4 separate regions of the Homo sapiens genome follow, and regions 2, 3 and 4 are each linked to region 1. Evidence: promoter capture Hi-C in 16 types of primary human blood cells and fetal thymus (Javierre and others, 2016). All regions are on one chromosome and are shown on one strand. The core of a region is centred on a gene start or on the middle of the fragment in contact, and the rest is flanking DNA. Distances in the headings are between cores, read along the strand shown.

Region 1 (3,427 bases), core at 91-2,590:
GGAAGCAGTGACTGTTCCCATCACCTAGTGTCCTTCTGTCAGGGGCCGCTTCGGTAGCTACAGAAGCCTAGCCGCTGGAAGCTTCCTTCCCCGACACTCCATACCTCCATGCCACACCTTTTAGGCAATAACCAAATGTCATTTTGTTCTTTCCCCTTCTCCTGGGCATTATACTGGGAAACTGTTTACGCGCATCGACCCCGCACACCTCCAAAAATCTCCACTTTCCGGGCTCCAAGCAGCTCTCCGCTACTCAGACAGCCCAGGCTAACACCTCGGATTTCCCCATGCAGTTTCCTCTGCAGCGTCTCAATCACAAGGCTGTACGGGCGGCACATGCCAACGGAACCACCACCCCTTCTGCTCCCTCGGGGACTCAAGCCTGCTCTCGGTCAAAGCACAGAAGCGGCTTTCAGCTCCGGGCAGGCGGCCGGGGCGTCGGGGGTACTGGAAGTGCCCAAACCCAGCGGTGCTGCCGCGCGGGGAAGCGGAGGTGCGGCCGCAGGACAAGCGCGCCTCCCAAGTCCCTGGCCACCTGCGATGCGTCCTCAACTCGCCTGCCCATCGCCACTACCAGAAACCTCAGACAGCCCATTGTGTGGGCAGGCAGCGCGCTCCCCCGGCCCCGCCGCCCTCGCCTACCTTCTGTCGGTCTCTCCGGAGCGCCCGCACAGCCGGCAGCCCGCCTCCAGCGCTCTGCAAAGCGAAGGAGGACGCTTTGTTAGGGCTGGAGAAACGGGACAATACTTCGCAGCCGGCGCAGCGGTTCCGGGCGGGCGTCCTTCAAAAGGACGCGAATGGGGACCCGCGTGAGCGTCATTTCCATATGTAAGGGGCCAGCTCTTACAAAAGCGCGGCTCTCGGGGGCCGCGGGCTGCAGCGCGCATCCTCCCCGCCCCCGCCGGCCCGCCCCCGCCCGCGCAGCCCGCGCCTCCGGGACCGGCCCCTCCTCCCGCCTCCGAAGCAGCCCCGTCCCCGCCTCGTCCTCCCGCCCGGCCGCTGCTTCCTCCCGGCCCGCAGGGATTGCGCCCCGCTGGCCCCGGACCCCAAATGGGAAGCCCCCGAGTGATCCGGTGCCCAGTTCGCTCCGGGCTCTCAGGGCCTCGCCGACGGCGCGGGGGCAGCGCGAGGCCTCCGTGCACCCCCAGGCCGTGGGTCCGGGTCCCCGGGGTTGCGCCACTTACTGCGTCCCGGGGCTCAGGCGCCCGGCGCCGCCGCGGGAACCATGGCCGCTGGCGCACTCCGGGCTTGGCGGCGGCAGCGGGACGGCCGCGCCCAGCGCGCTCGGCTCCCGGCTCGGCCGCGGCCACCCGGAGCTCTGGACGCCGGGGAGGAAGGGCCGGGCCCGCGCGGGGAGGAGGAGTCAGGGCGACGCCGGCCCCGGCGCGGCTCCTCCTCTGCGGCCCGCGCGGCTCAGGCAGCGGAGGGAGGAGCGGGCGGCGCCGCCTGAGCCCTCGCAGACGCGCCCTCCCGCTCCGAGCGCCCGCCTCCGAGATCTGAAGTTAGAAACGCCGGGGCTCCGGGTGCGGGTGTAGGAGGCTGGCGCCCCGAGGTCGCCACCGAGCTGGGGCTGGCGCTGCCACCCTCGCCCCTTGCCTGTCCGCCTCCCTTTCTTTCCCAACACGCCTACACTCACCCGCACCGCGGACACTCGGGCCGCAGCGTCTTCGCGCAGAGGAAGGGCCCCCGCCTTCAGCAAGCGGGACTTTAAGGGGGTGATTTCCCAGCCCTCGGGTGTCGATTGGCCATCAACATTGGAAAGGGTGTTCAGGAGGCAGAAGGGCTGTAGAAGTGACTCGGAACCCTGTAGAGCGAGCGCGACCCTCCTGCCGGGTCTACACTGGCTTCCGCACCTGCCCACCACGTCCTCACAGGCTCCCGCCCCTGTGCAGCCTTCTCCGGGTGAAGCTAACCCTCGGTCGCAAGCCACACAGGACGAAAACTCCTTGGAGTTGGTGGTTCCCAGCCCAACAGTTGCTCGATATTAATCGCCTCCTACCTACTACCCCAGAGTCTGCGTTCTCACTCCCCCATCCCTACACTTCTGATCTCATTGCAGTCAAATAGGATCCCAAGTCCAGGCCATGGTTCTTTTTGAGCTGCAGGGTTAAATGTGTTGCCCTTGAAGGATCCGCCTGATGGATTACAACCCACAAGTCTGGTTATTTTAGCAGGAAACTGGTGATTCCTTTTCTACCGAGAAAGCAAGCAACAGACAAGAGGAAACCAGCATTCCTTGAGAATCCAGTGCGCTAGAAACTCGACAGAAATTATCTTATCTAATTCTCACATCACTCTTAGGAGGCAGACATTATTTTGCAGATGAGGAAAATGGATCTCCCAGAAGTCAAAGAGCTTCCTCAGGATCACACAGCAGGAACTCCACAGAACTGAGATTCAAAAGCAGATCACATATGTGGCAAAATTGCATAGAACTGAATATACACTCACAAATGAGAGCACGTGAAACTCATGAAATTTGAATAAGACATTTGGACTACACTAATGTCCATTTACTGATTGTAATATTGTTCTACAGTTATGCAAAATGTTACCATTGAGAAAAATTAAGTGAAGCGTCTATAGGGAATCTCTCTATTATTCCTTACAACTTCAAGCGAATTTACAGTTACCTCAAAAAATTTTTTTAAAAATTTTAAACATCTCAGTCTTATTCAAAAGCCCAGGCTCTCTTCTTTCAACACGGTATATAAGCGTGCCTGCAGAATAAGAGAGATTTATGCTCCTCTCTCCTTTTTAAACAGTCTTGAATAAGTACACATACACACACAAACACACACTCATACACTGTATGCATGGTTGTTCAGTCATCCAGTAATATGATACAACACACACACACACACACGCAGTTCATTAAGAGGATAGCTAACCTGTTACCAGAATACTTACATAGAGGTCATCTTGTAAGACAGACAATAATGCTCACTGGGCACTAAAACAGCCAACAGTCTTGGAAGGTAAGAATGAAGAGGTGTCTTTCTTGTTTCACCTAATCTCTGCCATGGAAGCCTCATCCTACTGGTTACCTCTCCAAGCATCGCTTTTTAACCTGCAAGAATCCTTAAGGATGATATTGATCATTAGTTTAAAACAGTGATTCCTGGGGGTCAGGGGATATTGGAAGTGGCATTCACTCCCTGTGCAGGAAGATCAGAATTGCTGGGGGTTGTGTAATTTGAAAAACACAAGATGCGCTTTCTTGAGAGGAGTAAGTGGGGTGGAGTTAGCCCTGGGACTGGGAACTGGGATCACCTCCAGCCTTGCTACAAAGGAGGGAAAGCATGGAGCATGGTTACCGCGTGGTGTGGGTTGGCAAGAGCAACTCTACCAAGAAAGATGATTTATTTAACACAATGGGCCTGCAGTTTGGTTTGCACTGAGCACATGGTTAGTCTTAGTCCAAACT
Region 2 (3,128 bases), core at 569-3,068, 520 kb before region 1:
AGTGACACAAAATCATTGAAATATGTTTCACAAACAAAAGCACAAATCTCCAAGCATCCACTATGGAGACAGGTGAACAGAACAATAGTCATAGATGAATGCTGGAGGACAGTTGCAGGCCAAGCTAACCACGGAGGCTGAAAGAGACATCTTTCTCTACAACTCACTTAATCTCAAGTTAACACCAATGAATGGTTTAACAGATAATTTTCTTAAGCTTTTTATGGAAAAGTTCATACCTACACAAAGTTAGACAAAATAGTTCAATGAAGCCCCACATATACATCACCCAGCTTCACTAATTATCAACTCACAGCAAATCTTGCTTCTTCTATACTCTATTTCATCCCCTCCTGTATTATATTATTTTGATGCAAATCTTAAACACCACATTATTTCATCTGTAAATATTTCAATGTTATTTCTAAAAGGCATCTCTAAAAACACACACTACCATTATAGTTAAAAAAACTAACACAAAATTTTTTACATCACCTAATATTCACTTTAAAACTTTTAGGAAAAAATAGGACAAAATCTTGGGACTTAGAGTTGACATCAAAAACATGATCCATAAAAGAAAAAAAACTGATAAAATGGACTTCATCAAAACATAAAACTTTTGCTCTGCAAAAAGACTCTGTTAAGAGGATAAAAAAACTAAGAAATTGGAAAAAAATACTAGTAACTGCATATCTCCCAAAGGACTCATACATAAAAGAACTCTCAAAACAAGCCATTTAGAACGTAGGCAGGCCGGGTGCGATGGCTCACGCCTTTAATCCCAGCACTTTGGGAGGCCAAGGCGGGCGGATCACCTGACGTCAGGAGTTTGAGACCAGCCATGCCAACATGGAGAAACCCCATCTCTACTAAAAAGACAAAATTGGCTGGGCATGGTGGCGCATGCCTGTAATCCCAGCTACTCGGGAGGCTGAGGCAGGAGAATTGCTTGAACCCAGGAGGCCTCTGCGGTGAGCCGAGACCGCGCCACTGCGCTCCAGCCTGGGCAACAAGGCGAAACTCCATCTCAGAAAAAAAAAAAAAAAAAAAGTGGGCAAAAGATATGAACAAATATTTCATCAAAGAGGACAGATACACAGATGGCAAAGAAGCACATGAAAAGATGTTCAACACCATTAGTCAATGCATTGTTCAAACATCATTGCATCAGAGAAATGTAAATAAAAACCACAATGAGATATCACTACGTCTCTATCAGAATGGCTAAAATTTAAAAAGTGATCACCCCAAATGCTGGTGAGAATGAAGGGAAACTGGATTACTCACACATAGCTGGTGGGAATGTAAAATAGTACAGCCACTCTGGAAAAGAGTATGGCAGTTTCTTAAAAAGAAACTAAACATGGACTTACTACATGACTCAGTAACTGCAGTCTTGGGCATTTATTCCAGAGAAATGAAACTTATGTTCATACAAAAACCTGAACATGAATGTTCATAGTAGCTTTATTCGTAATAGCCAAAAACTGGAAGCAGCTTGGATGTTCTTCAACCCATGGTAAACGGTTAAACAAATTGTGATGTATCCATACCATGGAATTCTATTCAACAATTTTGAAAAACCTGCTATCAATACAGGCGACGCCTTGCATGGATCTTAAGGATAGTATGCTGTGTGAAAAAAAGCCAATCTCCAAAGGCTTGTTTTGAGAGTTCTTTATGTATTTTGTGTATTAGTCCTTTGGGAGATATGCAGTTGCTGGTATTTTTTTCCCACGTCTTGGTAGTTTTTTCATTCTCTTAACAGTCTTTTGCAGAGCAAAAGTTTTTCATTTTGATGAAGTCCATTTTGTCAATTTTTTTCTTTTAGAGATCATGCTTTTGATGTCATCTCTATGTCCAAAGATCTTGTCCTTTTTCTAAAAGTTTTATACTGAATATTTGGTGATATAAAAAATTTCAGGCCGGGTGCAGTGGCTCATGCCTGTAATCCCAATACTTTGGGAGGCTGAGGCGGGTGGATCACCTGAGGTCAGGAGTTTGAGACCAGCCTGGCCAACACGGTGAAACCCTATCTCTACTCAAAATACAAAATCAGCTGGGCGTGGTGGCACATGCCTGTAATCCCAGCTACTCAGGAGGCTGAGGCAGGAGAATCCCTTCAACCTAGGAGACAGAGGTTGCAGTGAGCCAAGATCATGCCACTGTACTCCAGCCTGGGTGACAAAGCGAGACTTCGTGTTAAAAAAAAAAAAAAATTTAGATTCACAGTTGCCAAGAGTTAGGAAGAATGGAGAGGAAGGTGTGAATATAAAGAGATAGGTAACACAACAGATAACCTTGTGGCAATAGAATATTTTTATACCACCCTTTTTTTTTTTTTTAAGAGAGTCTTGCTCTGTTGTCCAGGCTTCAGCGCGGCGGTGTAATCACAGGTCACCACACCTTCAACCTCCTGGGCTCAAGCGATCCTCCTGCCTCAGCCCCACAAGTGGCTGGGACTACAGGAGCAAGCCACCACACCTGGCTAATTATTTTTTAATTTTTTTGTAGAGCAGGGGTTTTGCCGTCTCCCTTTGTTGCCCAGGCTGGTCTCCAACTCTGAGGCTCAACCTATCCTCCCACCTCGGCCTCCCAAAGTGCTGAGATTATAGGCATGAGCCAGCATGCCTGGCCACATTTTCATATCTTAATTGAGGTGGTAGTTACACAAATTAATACATATGATTAAACTGCATAGAACTAAACACACACACACACACGAATATATGTAAAACTGATGAAAGCTGAACAATGTCCGTGGATTTTGCCAATATCAATTTCCTAGTTTTGATATTGTACTATAGTTATATAAGATGTTTTCATTGGGGTAAATGGGGTGAAGGGTACATGGGATCTCTTTGTACTGTTTATTTATTTTTATTTTTTATTTTGTAGAGAAGGGATCTTATATTTTGCCCAGGCTGGTCTCAAACTTCTGGGCTCAAGTGATCCTCCTGCCTCAGCCTCCCAAAGCACTGGGATTACAGGCCTGAGTCACCACGCTTGGCCTGTACTATTTTTGCAATTTCCAATGGATCTATAATTACTTCAAAATAAAAGTATAGGCCAGGCACGGTGGCTCACACCTGTAATCTCAGCACTTTGGGTGGCTGAAGAGGGAG
Region 3 (3,563 bases), core at 944-3,443, 980 kb before region 1:
TGTTACATCAATAAAAGAATGGGTAGCATGCCCACCCATGTAAAAATCTGTTTTAATAGTAAAAACAAAACAGAAAAATAAAAAGACTTAGTAACATATTAATGTCAGTGAGTATTCCAAAAAAAAAAAAATACTGACTGGGTACAGAGGAATACGACTCACAAAAGTGAGCTCTGGAAGATAAGACTAGGAAAAAAAGGTGGGGCAGGGAGGAGAAAGAACACAGAAAGCCAAGAATGTTAGGCTATAGAATATGGATTTAGAAATCAGGAAACCATAAAAGGTGAGGTAACTAATGAAAATTATACTTTAAAAAAATTAATGTTGGGCCAGGCGCGGTGGCTCATGCCTGTAATCCCAGCACTTCAGGAGGCTGAGGCTGGCGGATCACCTGAGGTCACGCATTTGAGATCAGACTGGCCAACATGGTGAAACCCCATCTCTACTAAAAATAGAGAAATTAGCCGGGTCTGGTGGCACACGCCTGTAATCCCAGCTACTGAGGAGGCTGAGGCAAGAGAATCACTTGAACCTGGGAGGCAGAGGTTGCAGTGAGCCAAGACTGTGCCACTGCACTCCAGCCTGGGTGACAGAGCGAGACTCCTTCTCAAAAACGAACAAAAAAACAAACAAACAAAAACAAAAAAATTAACGTTGGTCTAATTTAGAATTGTTTTGATGCAGAGAAGTGAATTACAGTTAAGGAACTGTAAGGCTGAATGTGATAAAAGCTTGAACTCTAATAGTGACTGTGGAAACAGAAGATCTGGAGCAGAACAGGATGTGAAAGGTAATGGGGAGAAATCAATTAATAAATATTCACTTTATTCAACCCATTATCTGTCAACCACTCCCTTTACCTTCATTTTATCTGCACTTTATTCGTAACAGTGAAGGAAACCCCAATTAAAAACTTAATTGTTAGTGAGCAATCTCTTAAAATTTAGCTTCAAGCGTAACAAGTTTACCTTCATGGCAAAACTAGACGGCATCATATTCTTAGGCCACTCAAATTCTGTTGTATGAATTCGTATGCCAGATTCAAGTAAAAGTGTAGCTTTAAAGTCCGGTCTGTAGAAGAAAAAAGTCGAATTTTTCTTTAGGGTATATGCCAAAGCTAATTGCTAAACAGGCTTAAAATGTAGGTTAAAAAAAATCAGTAATCTCATACTTAATTGTCAAAGAGAAAATAAGCCTATAAAATGTTCTTACTTTTGAAGACGAATAAGGTATGTCTTATTATCCACATCATAAACATTGTTTACTCTCATTCCTAGCAAGCTGCAAAGATAAAGGAAACATGTAACATGTTACACTATTGTCTGAAACATAAAACTACACATAATTTAATAAAAGCTTCGAAAGAGCGGATCTCAGTCTCTAAGGATATGGAGTCAGCCGAGGAGCAGAGTCTGAAAGCCATTTGGAGATTCAGTTCAAAACTTAAGAGTAACGATTTAAAAACAGAAGTGGTCTATCAGCTCTAGGAACAACACACTATAGCTTGCGTCTTCCAAATGACCCAATTTTGGGGGAGAAATACAGTAAAATATAATCCAATTAATTTATTACAAGGGAGAAAAAAAAAAGATAAAAGAGGGCCCCGAAAATATGACAAAGCTCACAGGGCTGAATAATAGAATCCAGACTAGAATCCAGATCTCAGTCCAAATCTGCTCAATCCAGCTAAAACCGCGATGCTCTCTCTCTCTCTGGGGTGAGGGGAGGGAGGTGTTCAAGAAACCAAGCCCCCAGTCTGGAAACCTCTGAAGCAAACGACCACTCTGGCGTCTCGTGTTTTAACAAACGTTTCCTGCCCAACCCGGACAACCCAGGCCAACAATGCAAGAGCTTCGCGCTAGCGGGGCAAGCCAGAGAGCTGGGAGGACGCGGGGGATGGGGCACGAGGTGCCTGGGACCCCCAGGGGTATCCTAAGGGTCACGGGAAAGACACCACACGCCTGCCCACTCAGGCCTAGGCAGGTCCATAGACGCACTAGGAAATAAGGAAACATATCAAGCTGGTCTGTTTGCGCCATGGGACTCCGGCCTCTGCCTCCTGCACTCCCCACACGAGCCTCGTCACTTAGGGTACTGTACCTAGCATTCAGCTCCGCGAGTACGGCGCGGAGGTCAATGGTGCTAAAGCGGCTCTTCATGGCGAGGCCCGAGGGTCACTACCGCAAGTTCCTCTACTGCCCGGCCGGACTCGACGCCACTTCTCCTCCGCGCAGGCGCACTTGGCGGAGCTCTACGGCCGCGCAGAAGACCCAATATTCCTCGAGGCGAACGTATTTGTGTCGCTTTTCTGAAGATTTCGATTGTCAAGTTGCAGCTGACTCTCTTCATTGTACCAAAATTCAAATTCGAATAAAGATTCAAACTGTTCTCTTGAAACTGCATTCCTTCCTGGAACCCTTACGGACCAGTCTGGTTACCGTGCCCCATTGTGTCTTGGGCTCAAGTCAGCCTTCATAGTGACCCCTGCTGGTCGAAACAATTTTCGAGATGATTATCAGGAGTATTTCCCCACAGGGGGGCCGTAGGGCTCAGTGTAGAAGAGCAAGGACCCCTTTCTGCGCGCTTACTTTGACATAAGATTTTGAAATGTAACGAAACGGAACTGCTTCGGTCCTTCTAAGATTATCCTCAACGATCGAGGCGAACTCTCAAAACGGAGTTCCTATTTTGATGGGTCCTGCTCTCGGAAGGAGCATTCTGCAATTGATTACAGGATTCTCATCGAACCTCGGTCTTGGTACCCCTGAGACTCACCGCAGTACCTGGTGTACAATCGGTGCTCCATAAACACTTGGCAGCATGAATGTGCAAGTGTTTAGCTAGATAATGGTGAAATAAGATAAAAATAAAAACAAGAAGATTCCCAATGGGGGTGGGGTGGGAGGGGGGATTCACAGTGTAGTGAGGAAAATAGTCCTGTAAGAATGTAAATTCTGCATTTCTTTTGTCTTAGGATAGATGCATGGGAAGAAAGGCTACTTTATAAGGTGAGAACTCAAAAGAGGCAGGGTCTCACTATGTTGCCCAGGCTGGAGTGCAGTGGCTATTCACAGGCGCAATCCCACTACTGATCAGCACGGGAGTTTTGACCTGCTCCGTTTCCGACCTGGGCCGGTTCACCCCTCCTTAGGCAACCTGGTGGTCCCCCGCTCCCGGGAGGTCACCATATTGATGCCGAACTCAGTGCGGACACCCGATCGGCATAGCGCACTACAGCCCAGAACTCCTGAACTCAAGGGATCCTCCAGCCTCAGCCTCCCGAGTAGCTGGGACTACAGGCACGCGCCACCGCGCCCGGCGCTCGGCGTCGCTGCAAAAGAGCTGCTAGAGGCTTGCAGGCTACACATGGTAGCAACCAGAATTCCTACCACCAGAAGGCGACTCTAAACAGAAAGGGCGCCGCTGCTATTTCAGAACTGGTACCAGTAGATGCAAAAATGGCTATAGCACATACTGCACAGCATTACTGTCATACGGTACAGTAAACCATACAGAATGGCCCAAAATATGAAAGCATTGGGGAGAAGGTGGAGAACAGGGAA
Region 4 (3,492 bases), core at 259-2,758, 940 kb before region 1:
GACGTTTATAAGGTTATCATATAACCTATCTACCATTATCTAATATTTTAAATTTGTTTAATAAAAACAGTATGTTACCATATGCTGTTTATAGCATCTTGCTTTTTAAACAAAGATACCCATTTCCTGTTTTTCTCCCCTTGATATTTGAAGGTTTCACGTTATTTTAAGTCTAATTTTATCATTAACCATTTGATACAAAAATGTGTCCTTGGCAGGGCGCAGTGGCTCACGCCTGTAATCCCAGCATTTTGGGGGGCCGAGGCGGGTGGATCACCTGAGGTCAGGACTTCGAGACCAGCCTGGCCAACATGGTGAAACCCCGTCTCTACTAAAAATACAAAAATTAGCCGGGCGTGGTGGTGGGCGACCTAATTCCAGCTGCTCCGGAGGCTAAGGCAGAACTGCTTGAACCCAGGATGAGGAGGCTGCAGTGAGCCGAGATTGTGCAACTGGACTCCAGCCTGGGCGACAGAGTGAGACCCCGTCTCAAGAAACAAACAAAAACCAAAAAACCAAAAATGTGCCCTGAAGTCTTCCACATTGTATTATTTAAGCCTCACGTGAGTTAGCAAGGTCAGTTTACACGAGATAAACTTAGTAAGGTTAAGTGCCCAGATCCAGGCCATACAAGCGGTCGTTCTATATTCTAAATTCTATGCTTCTTAAAGTTAAGAATGGGTAGTAGTTAAGAAGCTACTACTAACAGTATGAGATAAAATGATATTTTAAAGATGAACAGATGTCGCATTCTAAAAAGGTGAAAACGCGGCAAGGCACAGGAACTCTTCATAATACTGCAGTTTTTAAGAAACATGGGCTGGTCTTGACGAGACCTATAGGCAGACAGGGCTCAAACATTCAAAAGAGCTGCAGAGTAAACTCAACTCCGGGAAAGCGCTGCACTGACTGGCAGATTCCACACGAGACACTGGCCTCCCACGTGTCTTTCAGGAAACATACAAAATTCAAGGGATAAAGGAAGCCAAGAAGGGGTTGCGAAAAAGGGAAAAAAAAAAAAAACAAAAGCGAACAGAGCTTCCCTGGGACGTTCAGGGAGCGCGGAGGGTGCGGGAAGGCTGGGGCGGGCGGAGGGAATTCGCAGAGCATCTGGCGGGCACCGAGGTCTGGGAACAGGCCTGGAGGCAGCTCGGTTCGTGGAGAGAGCGGGCTGCCCGTGGGCCCCACCCTGTAGGGCCCCCCAGTAGATCTGCTCCCTTGGTTCGGGTGGGCAGGGGAGGGCAGAGCGCAAAAGAGAAAAGCAGGGAAGGAGACGCTAGAAGAGCCACGGGTAGGCGCGAGTCAGAGTCCGAGGTTCGAGGGCTCTGGGCCGGCCGCATCTGCGAGCCCTCCGAGGCGCCGTAGCCCCGCCCCTCCGGCGCGTGGCGCCCATGACGCTAGGCGCGCGGGCCGCTCTCCTTACAGAGGTCGCTCTTGTCCGAACGGTCGGCCTCTGCTGCGCCTGCGTGGTCGGGAGGGGAAGTGAGGCGGTTTCCTCGGCGCCTTTTCCGGCAGCGGCGGCGGCAGAACTGGGAGGAGGAGTTGGAGGCCGGAGGGAGCCCGCGCTCGGGGCGGCGGCTGGAGGTAACCCCTTGGGCCGAGCTGGAAAGGCGGGCCACCTCGGTCTTCGCTCCTTTGTGGAGCTCTGGCAGTAACTCCCCTCCCTCTCTGTTTCTCTGCAGGCAGCGCACCGAGTTCCCGCGAGGATCCATGACCTGACGGGGCCCCGGAGCCGCGCTGCCTCTCGGGTGTCCTGGGTCGGTGGGGAGCCCAGTGCTCGCAGGCCGGCGGGCGGGCCGGAGGGCTGCAGTCTCCCTCGCGGTGAGAGGAAGGCGGAGGAGCGGGAACCGCGGCGGCGCTCGCGCGGCGCCTGCGGGGGGAAGGGCAGTTCCGGGCCGGGCCGCGCCTCAGCAGGGCGGCGGCTCCCAGCGCAGTCTCAGGGCCCGGGTGGCGGCGGCGACTGGAGAAATCAAGTTGTGCGGTCGGTGATGCCCGAGTGAGCGGGGGGCCTGGGCCTCTGCCCTTAGGAGGCAACTCCCACGCAGGCCGCAAAGGCGCTCTCGCGGCCGAGAGGCTTCGTTTCGGTTTCGCGGCGGCGGCGGCGTTGTTGGCTGAGGGGACCCGGGACACCTGAATGCCCCCGGCCCCGGCTCCTCCGACGCGATGGGGAAGGTGCTATCCAAAATCTTCGGGAACAAGGAAATGCGGATCCTCATGTTGGGCCTGGACGCGGCCGGCAAGACAACAATCCTGTACAAGTTGAAGCTGGGCCAGTCGGTGACCACCATTCCCACTGTGGGTTTCAACGTGGAGACGGTGACTTACAAAAATGTCAAGTTCAACGTATGGGATGTGGGCGGCCAGGACAAGATCCGGCCGCTCTGGCGGCATTACTACACTGGGACCCAAGGTCTCATCTTCGTAGTGGACTGCGCCGACCGCGACCGCATCGATGAGGCTCGCCAGGAGCTGCACCGCATTATCAATGACCGGGAGATGAGGGACGCCATAATCCTCATCTTCGCCAACAAGCAGGACCTGCCCGATGCCATGAAACCCCACGAGATCCAGGAGAAACTGGGCCTGACCCGGATTCGGGACAGGAACTGGTATGTGCAGCCCTCCTGTGCCACCTCAGGGGACGGACTCTATGAGGGGCTCACATGGTTAACCTCTAACTACAAATCTTAATGAGCATTCTCCACCCATCCCCTGGAAGGAGAGAAATCAAAAACCCATTCATAGGATTATCGCCACCATCACCTCTTTCAATTGCCACTTTCTCTTCTTTTGAATTTGAACTCTGGAGTTACTGTTCTACAGTTTGGCGGGGACGGGGCTTGGGGGTTTTCTCTTTTGTTTGTTTCCCTTTCTTTTTCCTTTTTTTTTTTTTTTTTTTTTTGTTGGCTTTGCGTTAGGATGCTCTGATCTGACATTTGACATGAACACAAAGTTGCTAGATGCTCTTGTTGACTTCCAGCAGATGGGATGGGGGAAACACAGCAGTTCTTGGTAAAGTCCTTTGTAATAATAGTTTGATTTTTTTATTTCGAGAGAATCTTTCATTTTCCTATGTATGCTTTTTTCCTTTTTTGCCCAGTTTCCTTATCACTTGCTGTAGATGGCTTATTTTGCATTCATGCAGACTATGTTGCAAGTCTGTTTCATCTAGTAAACTGAAAATTATTGCTTAATCAAACTGCCGTTTGTCTTTTATATTTAAGGCCTTCCCCCCCCTTCCTTATGAGTTCTAACTTAGTAATTTCAAATGTGACCTTTTATATCTAAGACCAGTATAGTAAACTTAGCCCACAGTGGCAAATAATGAGTAATATTGTAATATGTTCCAGTTGCACCTCAGTATGTTAAACAGGTAATGTAAGAAGTTCTCTGAAATGTCAGCAAGTAAGTTCTGAAACACATCATGCATGAGTAGGAATAAAACCCAAGTTCCCCATAACGTAGATAACTTAATGCTGCATAAAAATATGA

What was found. The method cuts DNA at HindIII sites, captures the fragments that hold promoters and counts their contacts. A CHiCAGO score of 5 or more calls a contact.
Region 2: a contact is called between a fragment that was not itself captured here and the fragment with the promoter of NIN in region 1, in 1 of 17 cell types (naive CD4 T cells). The highest score is 5.0, in naive CD4 T cells.
Region 3: a contact is called between the fragment with the promoter of NEMF here and the fragment with the promoter of NIN in region 1, in 3 of 17 cell types (naive CD8 T cells, non-activated CD4 T cells and fetal thymus). The highest score is 7.7, in naive CD8 T cells.
Region 4: a contact is called between the fragment with the promoter of ARF6 here and the fragment with the promoter of NIN in region 1, in 9 of 17 cell types (total CD4 T cells, fetal thymus, non-activated CD4 T cells and 6 more). The highest score is 13.0, in total CD4 T cells.

What each region holds. Positions count from the first base shown.
Region 1 is chr14:50,829,822-50,833,248 of GRCh38, forward strand. NIN (ninein) reads right to left here and starts at 1,341. Exons shown (of 31, transcript NM_020921.4): 1 at 1,185-1,341; 2 at 643-696. RefSeq lists an enhancer at 23-72 and silencers at 643-762, 783-832, 903-1,182, 1,233-1,682. The HindIII fragment of the contact is 8,436 bases long and covers 80-3,427 here.
Region 2 is chr14:50,307,355-50,310,482 of GRCh38, forward strand. All of the region lies in intron 1 of L2HGDH (L-2-hydroxyglutarate dehydrogenase), which reads right to left. Among named protein-coding and RNA genes, the nearest start is that of L2HGDH, 3.3 kb to the right of the region's middle. The HindIII fragment of the contact is 3,207 bases long and covers 216-3,128 here.
Region 3 is chr14:49,850,595-49,854,157 of GRCh38, forward strand. NEMF (nuclear export mediator factor) reads right to left here and starts at 2,194. Exons shown (of 33, transcript NM_004713.6): 1 at 2,101-2,194; 2 at 1,213-1,281; 3 at 969-1,071. The coding sequence starts at 2,159. It also overlaps RN7SL3. RefSeq lists an enhancer at 2,201-2,440 and a silencer at 3,244-3,303. The HindIII fragment of the contact is 4,280 bases long and covers 1,355-3,563 here.
Region 4 is chr14:49,891,574-49,895,065 of GRCh38, forward strand. It overlaps ARF6 (ARF GTPase 6), which reads left to right and starts at 1,509. Exons shown (of 2, transcript NM_001663.4): 1 at 1,509-1,584; 2 at 1,683-3,492. The coding sequence starts at 2,164. The coding sequence ends at 2,691. RefSeq lists enhancers at 1,069-1,168, 2,039-2,358, 2,389-2,438 and silencers at 1,259-1,648, 1,689-1,878. The HindIII fragment of the contact is 6,329 bases long and covers 1-3,492 here.